Linked DNA regions of Homo sapiens: region 1 is linked to region 2. The links are contacts of gene promoters, found by promoter capture Hi-C in blood cells and fetal thymus (Javierre and others, 2016). All regions are on one chromosome and are shown on one strand. Each heading gives the region's core, a stretch centred on a gene start or on the middle of the fragment in contact. The rest is flanking DNA. Distances are from core to core; before and after follow the strand shown.

Region 1 (4,737 bases), core at 821-3,320, 780 kb after region 2:
CGCTGTGCAGAGAGTAAAGAGTGCTCAGTAAGCATTAGATGATGTGGTGAGGTTGATGATGTTGATCATGCTGTATAGATTGGAGTATGCAGTATAGTGTACACCTCCATTTTTAGGATAAACATTTAAGTCCAAAGTATAAAAACAAAGTGAAATAAGTTAACTAACCTGCCTGAGGAATGACACAACCAGTAACAGGTGAGATTTGAAATTCTAATGTGTCTCATGCCAGAGAGCCTTTATGTAAGAGTACATATCTGTTGATACTTACATGAAATGTTGATTCAGAACCACAAATGCAAGAATTTACATTGATCCTATTAAATATCATAGCTTTAATTTCAGCTTATTGTTCCTTCCACCAAGTTCTTCCTAAATCTGAATGATTATTCTCCATAAGAGTATTCACTACCCCTTCCAGATTTGTGTCATTTGCAAGTATGATAAGTGTATTTCAAACATTTTATGCAACTCAGTGACTAAAAGGTCAAATATGATAGATGTGTACAGAAGCTTTTGGCACACTCCTGGAGCTAGGACGTCAATCCAGGCCAATTAGCACATCATACTTTTATCAAATGTTCTGATACATGTGCCAGTCATCTACAAATCCCCTCATCTATTTCAGATCCCATCAGTGTTTTACACAAGGACACAATGAAACACATGGTCACATTCTTTCTATTGTTTAAGTAATCTTTTAATGAGCTACAAATCTGCTGAAAAATATGATGTGAAATTAGTGGTATTTTCTTAATGTGTATTTTCATTAAAAAATATGTATTTATCTCCTACATGTACCAGTGAAAATATCTCATAAGGCAAAATAGTTAATTGAATTTTGGCATGTCTATATGACGGAAGGTAAATCTACCAAAGAAATAAAATTATATTTATTTAATATCATCCAAAATGTTTAGGATAAAAATGTAAACTGAAAATAGCAGATGACAAAACTGTATAAAGTATTACATCGTGTTAAAATGCAACACACACACACACACACACACACACACACACACTCTAGAAAATGAAAAACACCAAAATTCAAGGTTATGAATTTTTTTCTTCTTTCATGTTTTTATGCATTATACAGCATTTCCAATTTGAACATCTATTAGAAATAAAATCTAGTAAATCTATCTGGAATGTTTGCTATTTAAATGTAGTGGGTCAGGGGAGTCATGGAGAGGTGACATCTAACAAGAGCAAGTTAGTGGGTAAACCTGCTTTATAGGCTCTTAGAGGAGGAGAGGAAGAGGAAACAGAAGAACCCTAAGTGGGAGTGAACCTTGTATGTCCTAGGAACAGCAGGAGATGACAGTGAGAGGAGTAAGCCCGGAGGAAAATACTGAGGCAGGGAGGAGAGGGCTACGTGTTGTAGGTCCTTGAAGACTGTGGTAAGGACTTTGGCATGTACTATGAGGCACATGGCAACTTAGGAGATTTGACATGGTCTGACTAAAAAGATCGCTCTGGCTAATATATTGAGAAGAGATTGTAAAGGGGCCAGGGTGGAAGCTAGGACACCGGATAAGAGGTTATTGCATTAATCCAAGCAATAGATGATAGTGGTTTGTATTACAATGATAATGGTGCAGGTGGTGAGAAATGATTGGATACTAGACAGATTTTGAAGTTAGAGACAACGAGATATGTTCATGAATTTGGATCTGGGCTGTAAGACGAAAGAAAACAGAGCTGAGGATGACTCCAAAGTTTTTGGCAGAAGCTTCTGAAAGAATTGAGCTGCTATTGACTGAGATGGGGAAGACTGTACAGGAATAATTTGTATGATTGGAGTGGGAAGAGTATGGATTTAGTTTTGAACATGTGTATTTTCAAGTGCCTGCTAATTGCACAAGTGGAGATGGTTCGTAAGCAGTTGGAAGTATAAGTTTGCATATCACAGAGTCTAGACTGGACATACAAATTTTGGAGAGTGCCAGACTATTCAGGTTATATGAGGATTAAATGAGTTAATATATCCAAAATGCTTAGAACATCCTTGGAAGGCCCACCACTACATATAGCTGAACAGGTTGTGCACTGCACACCTCCAAGGGTTATCATGTAGATTGAGTACATCTGAAAGATGCTTCTGGACACCCTTGGTGGCTCTGGCAAGCTCATAGTAAGTGCTCATTATTATTGTTGTTATTGGTTTCAAAAAGCTGACACATCTCAGTATATTCTTTATGTTTTCAGGTAAGGTTTTTCAGTTAGTTCAGACCCCTTATTTATATGCTCAGAAATACATTTGACATTGATTGGAACTAATTCTGTTCCACAGTAGGTGGAATTTCTGTATTCTACTTTGTGCTAGCAGCTATAAACAGTGATAATTAATGCTTTAAAAGTGCCTGGTTTGGAACAAATATATGACAGTATCATATATAAAAGCTTTTAGTCTTTTAGGAAAAATTTCATGTTTTATTATTTTGAGACATTTTGTTATTAACATATGACTTTTCCAAAAAGCATTAAGACCTTTTAATGTGATTTTCTTTGAAGTTCATTTCCATTGGTTTCAGTAGCCTAAAGCATTCTGAAGGCATGTTGGAAGGAGCATAGAATATACAGAACAGTAATATCATAGACAGCATTGAGCAGATCTTTCCATTCGGTGGGAAATAGATTGCATTTAGTATGTTCATGTTTATTTCATTTTTGGCATAATATGTATTAGGTTATTTCTAACTGTTAGTCCTTCTTACAATCACATGAGCTTGTACGTGTAAGTGATAATCGACAATCTTAGATCTAAATGGATTATCATCAATTTTTCTTTTAACTGTAAAATGGTGTTGCTCTATCTGTTCTCCTTAAATCTATATGTAGAAACAGTTCTATATTCAGCCTGCAAATGGAGTAGCTGGTTGCTTCCATTTATGAGTTAAGAGATTTTGAAAAATGGCACTCTCATAGGTCTACCCACCCCAGCCTGCCCAGCCTTTTATTTGTAGCTGTGGTTTCTACCACTGTCATGTCCCCTCATAATTGATCTATGTTTCCAGAAGGCCTCAGGAAAAATACAAATTTGCAAAGTAACTTTAGAATCTTCAAGCCTTTGCACAACTTTTGTGCCAGATTAACTGGCCTGTCCATTAGCTATCTGTCTGATATCCTGTCTAAGGTGATGCTGGAGAAGATACTTTGTGCACTGGCAGTCACAAATTAGCAGGAGGGAGTTGAGCCCCTGAGGGAGGGGTAGATGGAAGCGCTGCAGACACTTCTGTGCATTTTACACTTCTGTTTGAAATTAATCTTGATCACATGAGTATATATGCTGTTCTAAAATTTTGACTATAAATTGCTTGAATGAATATCATGATGATGCTTACAAAAACATCAAGTTTAGCAAGGTTAACCGTACTTATTTGTTTTTCCTGTACAGTAATTGCCTAATATATTTTGACCTCATAACTCCTGATGTAATATACTGTAAGATGAAAAATCCCAACGATAAATGTTTTTAGTTTCATTTTTAACTTCATATTTTTTAGCAAGGAAGAATACCTGCCCATCTTTTTGTATCAAGATGTATGAAAGTTAAAGTTTCCATTTTATACTTAGTTTTCAAATTAAGAGGCAGGATAGGAAAATTGAATTGAGACTGGAATAAAAAGTAAAGTCAACTCACATAACAGAAGAGTGAATACAAATAAACAGATGACAATGAGAATTGTCAGATAAGAACAAGTGGAAGTATTAACATCTCATAAAGAAGAGCAATTCCACATCATGGTAATGCCATTAATTCCTACTGATGTAGCATTTGCTCAAATCATATTGAGACTTTACTATTATATGAGTGGTTTACAGTAAGTTAAATGTGAAAAACAAAGCTATATGTATATTTTAGTACTGCTGGAGAAAGATGCAATTTGATGGGAATGTGTCCACAAATCAAAGAATAAACTCTAAGACATGAGAGACTGCTAGATTTTTACACTGCTTGTCTGAAAGTTTGGTTACCAAGCATCTGATCAGCTCTAATACTAAAGCATTGTCTCAAAATATGTCTATGATACTAACAGTTTGGAATTATATGCCAAGCCATTATCTTATATATACTTTTGTCATTTTGGAACCGTCAACCTCAGAATCTCTGGAAGTGCTTTTTAAAACTAGGGATTCCTGTACCTCACCAGACTATAAAATCAGCATCTTGCACAAGCTACTAAAGTGTCAAAACTAACTTTTGGGAAACATGACTCAAAACCATTTTCTACCCTACAGGTCAAACTATATCATTTTAATGTTCAAGGACCTTGGCCAACTCCATAATACCCATTAAACTCCATAATACACACACAGAGTAAACTCCAAACTGTTTAGAAGGCTTTCGTGATACTTTGTAAGCTCACGCTCCAGCTGCTATTACTCATGCAAACTATGCTCAAAAAACCCTAAACTACTCATTATGGCCCCAAACAGTTGTGCTCATCCATGCCTCTGTGTTATTGCTTAGGCTAGCTATTCAGCCTGAAATTCTCCTTCCCTTCCCTTTACTGCTGGACAAACTAGATTGTTCAAGCAAAACTAAACTGCAGAGCCTTCTGCAATCCTTTCTCTCCACTTTATACATACCTATATTTTCGCAAATATTATGGTCATAATAGTTACTTGCCTATTCCTCTGCCTATTTCCTGGACCCTAAAACCTCCTTGAGGACAGGGTAGTGACATTCGTCTTTTTATCCCCCCTCCCTGAACCCACACACACACCAAGAAT
Region 2 (5,077 bases), core at 2,261-4,760:
AGGCATTTTACTTGGTTCAACTTGGTGTTTTGAGTGATCCAACTTAGAGCCAGGGAGTGGGAGTTGTTGTAGCACGGAGGTAGATCCAAGTTAAACATGTAGAACTGAGGAAAGGGCTGTTTCTGGAAAATGGGCACTCAGCAGGTAATTCCAGGTATTCATCCGTGGCTTGCTAAGTAACACATTGTGTTACCCACATAATTTTTATGCAGGTTCTGAGTAACAGCAACACATTCTAGTTAGGTCCCCTAATAGGGATTTATTATCAAGCTATATGGAAAAGTAAAGAAATACAGAGATTCATCTTGGCCTCTAACAATCCAAGTATCATGTCCTTTCTACATCAGCTAGTAAATATTCCCTACTCTGGTATTTGTTTCTTATAATGACTTAGATGAGATGGGAAGCAAATGAGGGTAGACACTGAAATAACTGATTCTTGACTTGAGCTCATGGCTTCTTTCTCATCCTTTGGCTTGCCCATACAGGGTACTACCTTCCTGTCTACATTTCAAATTATCTGAGCTGGAATCTGATTGGGTAGACAAGGCACCATCAAATATATCATGCTTTTTTTGGCAAAAGCTTTGATGTCAAATCATTTTATAGGCTGCTGTTCAGATACCCATCTGTGGCCACATATCTAAAATTGTTGTTTCAATGTTAGAATGAGTAAAATGGGGATCAAGGCAGAACAAACAGAATTAGAGGGAAACTGTGGGTATGTTGGGTAATGTAATAGGTGAATCCTTGTATGGGCTGTTTAATATCCACAAAAATATATACTAAGTGTTTTTTTAAACCAATGAATATTAATGGAAAATCCTCCTTTGTCAAGAATTATTCTAGAAGATATGGGTGAGAGCAGGGCATATAGAAGATATTCTGTTATAGAAAAGCTATAAAATTGACAGGGGAACAAAAACTAACATAATTGGCACAACTATAAAAAAATCCAAAATATTCAGGCCATGAAGTTTTTGCCCTACAATTTAAGCGAAAATATGCAACTCATTTATTCACTTTGTCTTTTTTTTCTTTTTCTTTTTCTCTCTTTTTTTTTTTCAGAGATAGGGTCTTGCTCTATCTCCCAGGTTGGAGTGCAGTGGCATGATCATAGCTCACTGTAACTATTAACTCCTGGGCTCAAGCAATTCTATCCCATCTCAGCCTCCCAATAGCTAAGACTACAGGTGTGCACCACCATACCCAGCTCATTAAAAAAAAAAAAAAAAAAAGGTAGAGTTGAGGTCTCACTATGTTGCCCAGGTTGGTCTGGAACTTCTGGCCTCAAGGGATCCTCCCACTTCAGCCTCCCAAAATGCTAGAATTACAAGCATGAGCCACCACACCTGGCCCATTCCTTCACTTCGTGCAACATAATTGCCATCAGAAACCAGACTTTTTTTTTTTTTTTACTACAGAGACTTAAACTTTTACAAAAGGAAGATGTTTTTCTCATTTAAATTGTCATTCTAGGGACAGAAAGTAAGTTTTGAAAAGAAGTAGCTTTTATGGAAGAGAGGTGCCTGAGAATTTCAAAAGGATTTAAGACAAGGGGAATGAGAAGAGATTGAATGAAAGAAGAGAAAACAGAGAGAAAGAGTAATTAAAAAAAAGAAAAGAAAAGAAAACAAAGATAATCCCAAAGAGCAGTGTGCACAGTTTTGCTGCAATCAGTACCATTCTGGTCAAGTCTCCGTCATCTGCTCTAGGCTTAGTTCCTCTCTGCCCTAGGCTGCTTCTGGTAAAACCGCACGCTCAGCTTGTTGGGCGTCTTCATGGAGCCTGTTATTTGCTGTGGGTCTAAGAAAGGGAAAGCTTCAGGCTTCAGGCATCTGTACCTCCTATCTGTTCTCAGCTCCATGGAAATTCTTAAGGGATGGGGCTATAGATAAGAGAGTGGGAAATGGAGATCAAGGTCTCAAATGAAAGGCAGGGTGGTTTGATTTTTAAGCTCCCCTGATACTTTTTATTTATATATTTGCTGCTTCTAGAAAAACCAAAAAAGGAAAGTGATTCATACATAGAATGCCTGTACAAATAGCAAACCAATAACTACCCCCAGCAGATTCTGGCCCTTGCCAGGGTGCGGTTTCAGAGCTGTAAAAGGCAAGGGATATGTACATTGAAATGACCCAGTCCCAGAATATTTTAGATTCAGAAAAGGTCAGAGACTTTCGTAACTAGCAATGACCTCCAGATTAGGGACCATGAATGTGCAGAGTGAGGACAAGGAAGGGGCCTAAAGCTGGGTCTACTGTAGAATAAACAGAATCATTTAAGGTTAATTATGTTCTGATGTGGCCTCCTTAAATTCTTTCAGGCTGGGGACAATTTCTAGCCCTTTAAGATCAAATCAGTGGCTTTGGACTAGAATCTGCTTAATAAGAATGAACTCCAAAGGTGAAAAAAAAACATAAAATCTAAAAATCAAAGGATATGCCTTTATAAATGTGAAAGTTTAGTTTGGCTCAATGTTGGTCAGTTTAGAAATGTGGGAGTAATCGGAGAGATGGCATAACTGGGGGCGGGAGGCGGGGCGGTGATTATACCCCTACCACTACCTAATCCTCAGGGGCTACCAGTTACTTGCTGTACACACTTTTAAAGTACTTTCTAATTGTGGACCATGAGTGGCAGAGTACTGCGGGCGGAGGCTTTTTGCTGAAAGCAACATTGACTTTTATTTCTAGGGAAAGTCTTGTCTGTAGATGAGCACCGTGGGGCAACGGAGAAAATGCTGACTTTCTTGTTTAAAAAAAAAAAAAATTTCCGTAAGCGGCCCTCCAATGGTCCGTCCACTCAGCAGGCCAGCTGTCCCAGGCCTCTGCCAGGGAGGGAAGACGAGTGCTTCAGTGCATGGCTTCGGTGAGCCCTTTAAATCCAGCTTCCCCTGCCCCCACCAAGAGGCTCCCTTTCCCTGACAGGTGTTTTCCCAACTCCGGAGGCCCAGGATTTTGGGGAGTGGCTGAGCCAATAAGATTTCCCTTTGGAAGGGGGGGGGAAGGGCGTGGCTAGTTGGGTCAGAGCATGGGCGGGGTTTGCGCGGCTGAGCAGAGCCGGCCTGGTTGCGTGGAGGGTTGTTTTATTCCCACCGCCCCCCGCACCTTTTTTTTTTTTTTTTCTGGAGTCTTATTAATTTCTCTGTGGGCTGCAGCTGGAGACCGCGGAGCGCTGGAAATGACGCTCGGAGCTTTAATTACCGCAGCCGCCGGACAAGTGTGAGGAAAGCTGAGAGGAAAAAGAAGGACGGGATCCGGGGAGAAGCGAGAAGCTCCCCCCGCCCCGCTCCCCTCCCGATTTGGACTGGAGGTGCAAGGAAACTGAAGAAGGAGCAGAACATAGCCCGGCTGCGGGGAGAGGCCGGAAACCTACCGCCTCTTTGCAATCAACTTTTTTTGGAAACCTTTCGCCCCCCTTCCTTTTTTATTGTTGACCAACCAGTGAGAGAGAGAGAAAGTGAGGAGGGAGCGAGCAAGCGAAGGCTCACGCGGGGAAATAGCTGCACAGTCCGGCCCAGAGCGCCAAGCGCACACACCGAGCACACTCCCACACGCGCACACACGCGCTCACACTCGCCCCCTCCTCGGGCCCCGGCCCTGGACCCGCGGGCGCGGACTCGGTCGCCCGCCCTGGGAGTCGCCACACCGCGCGCGCCGCGCCCGCCCCCCTCGCACCCCCACGCGCGCCCGGCTGGGGGATCTCCTCCGCGTGCCCGAAAGGGGGATATGCCATTTGGACATGTAATTGTCAGCACGGGATCTGAGACTTCCAAAAAATGAAGCCGGCGACAGGACTTTGGGTCTGGGTGAGCCTTCTCGTGGCGGCGGGGACCGTCCAGCCCAGCGATTCTCAGTCAGGTGGGTTCCTTCTGGCACTCCGGTCGCCGAACCTGCAGCCGCCGGCGGGGCTGCCTCGAGTGGCTCCCCTGCCCTCTTCACCCATCCCGGGAGGCGTGGAGGGACCGCTTGACCGGGGCCTCTTCCCTGGGCTTTCGGTCACCCCTCTTTCCATTTGAAACTTACCCTGTATGTGTGCGTTTGCTTTATTTATCGTGAAAAATCACTCTGAGTCCCTCTTTTCTCTCCTTAACCCCCTGCTTTTCTTTCCCGAGCGTTTTGTTTGGGAGCCTAAGCGGGATCCCTTCTGGTGGCGCCTGTTGTTCGGGACATGGGAGACCCAAATCCCCAGTCAGAGGAGACTCTTCTGTCCCTGTCGGGTCCCCGAGGGCAGAACCCGCACCGCCGGGGCCGCGGTCCTGGGGCGGTGCTGGCTGGGCCTCTCCCGAGCCGAGCCCGAAGGGCGGTGGAGAGCGGCGCTCAGAAAATCGGGCTTTGCACCTGTGTGTGCTGCTGGCGACCGCTGCGCCCCCAGTCGCCCGAGCCTTGTGGCGTCAGACGCAACTCGCGCCCAGCCCGGGCAGCCGGAGTGCAGCAGGCGGGCGCGCCTCGGTCCGGGGCCCGGAGTTCTGGGCCTCTTCCGCCGGCTTCCCGGAGCCCTCTCCCCATTGACTTGAGGGGCGCTTACTCGCCTGCCTGACCTCTTAAAAAAAAAAAAAAAGGCTTGGCACACTTGAGCCAGAAGCCCGGCCTTCCCGTCGGTTGCCGTGTTTGGCTCCGGGAAGAGTTCTTCCTGTAGTTCAACTTGCTATTGGCCGGAGTCCTTCAAACTTGTCTGTTTACTGCCCGGCCAGGCTGCCGAGCCTGCGGGTCACTGGATCCACCCGAGGCGAAAGCGGCAGCGGCGATGGGTGCGCGGCCACTGCTTGCTGGAGAGCTCGAGCCCCAGGTACCTGGGCAGGCAAAGGGCTAATTGACCCCGAGAGGCAGCGCGGCGGGGCTGGCCCGCCACGGCTTGCAGGACTAATGACAGCACCTGCAGTGCAATGGAGCTCAAAGTTTCTGACACTAGAGTTTCCTGGGGATGAAAGTGGGACGGGAGAGGTCTGAGGAGGACCGGTGTCTTGACGTGGCCAAGGGGTGCCTTTTGGAGAGCCAGAGAGATTTCCGAAACCATCCAGGGATGGTGACTGGAGCGTGGGAAGTAGCTTGAGGTGATAAAGCCCCCGGGAGTG

What was found. The method cuts DNA at HindIII sites, captures the fragments that hold promoters and counts their contacts. A CHiCAGO score of 5 or more calls a contact.
Region 1: a fragment that was not itself captured here is called in contact with the fragment with the promoter of ERBB4 in region 2 in 2 of 17 cell types (fetal thymus and endothelial precursors); the score reaches 7.6 in fetal thymus.

What each region holds. Positions count from the first base shown.
Region 1 is chr2:211,756,092-211,760,828 of GRCh38, reverse strand. The region is part of intron 4 of ERBB4 (erb-b2 receptor tyrosine kinase 4); the gene reads left to right. Among named protein-coding and RNA genes, the nearest start is that of MIR548F2, 670 kb to the left of the region's middle. The HindIII fragment of the contact is 671 bases long and covers 1,735-2,405 here.
Region 2 is chr2:212,537,235-212,542,311 of GRCh38, reverse strand. It overlaps ERBB4 (erb-b2 receptor tyrosine kinase 4), which reads left to right and starts at 3,510. Exons shown (of 28, transcript NM_005235.3): 1 at 3,510-3,863. The coding sequence starts at 3,782. RefSeq lists an enhancer at 4,479-4,979. The HindIII fragment of the contact is 6,206 bases long and covers 1,824-5,077 here.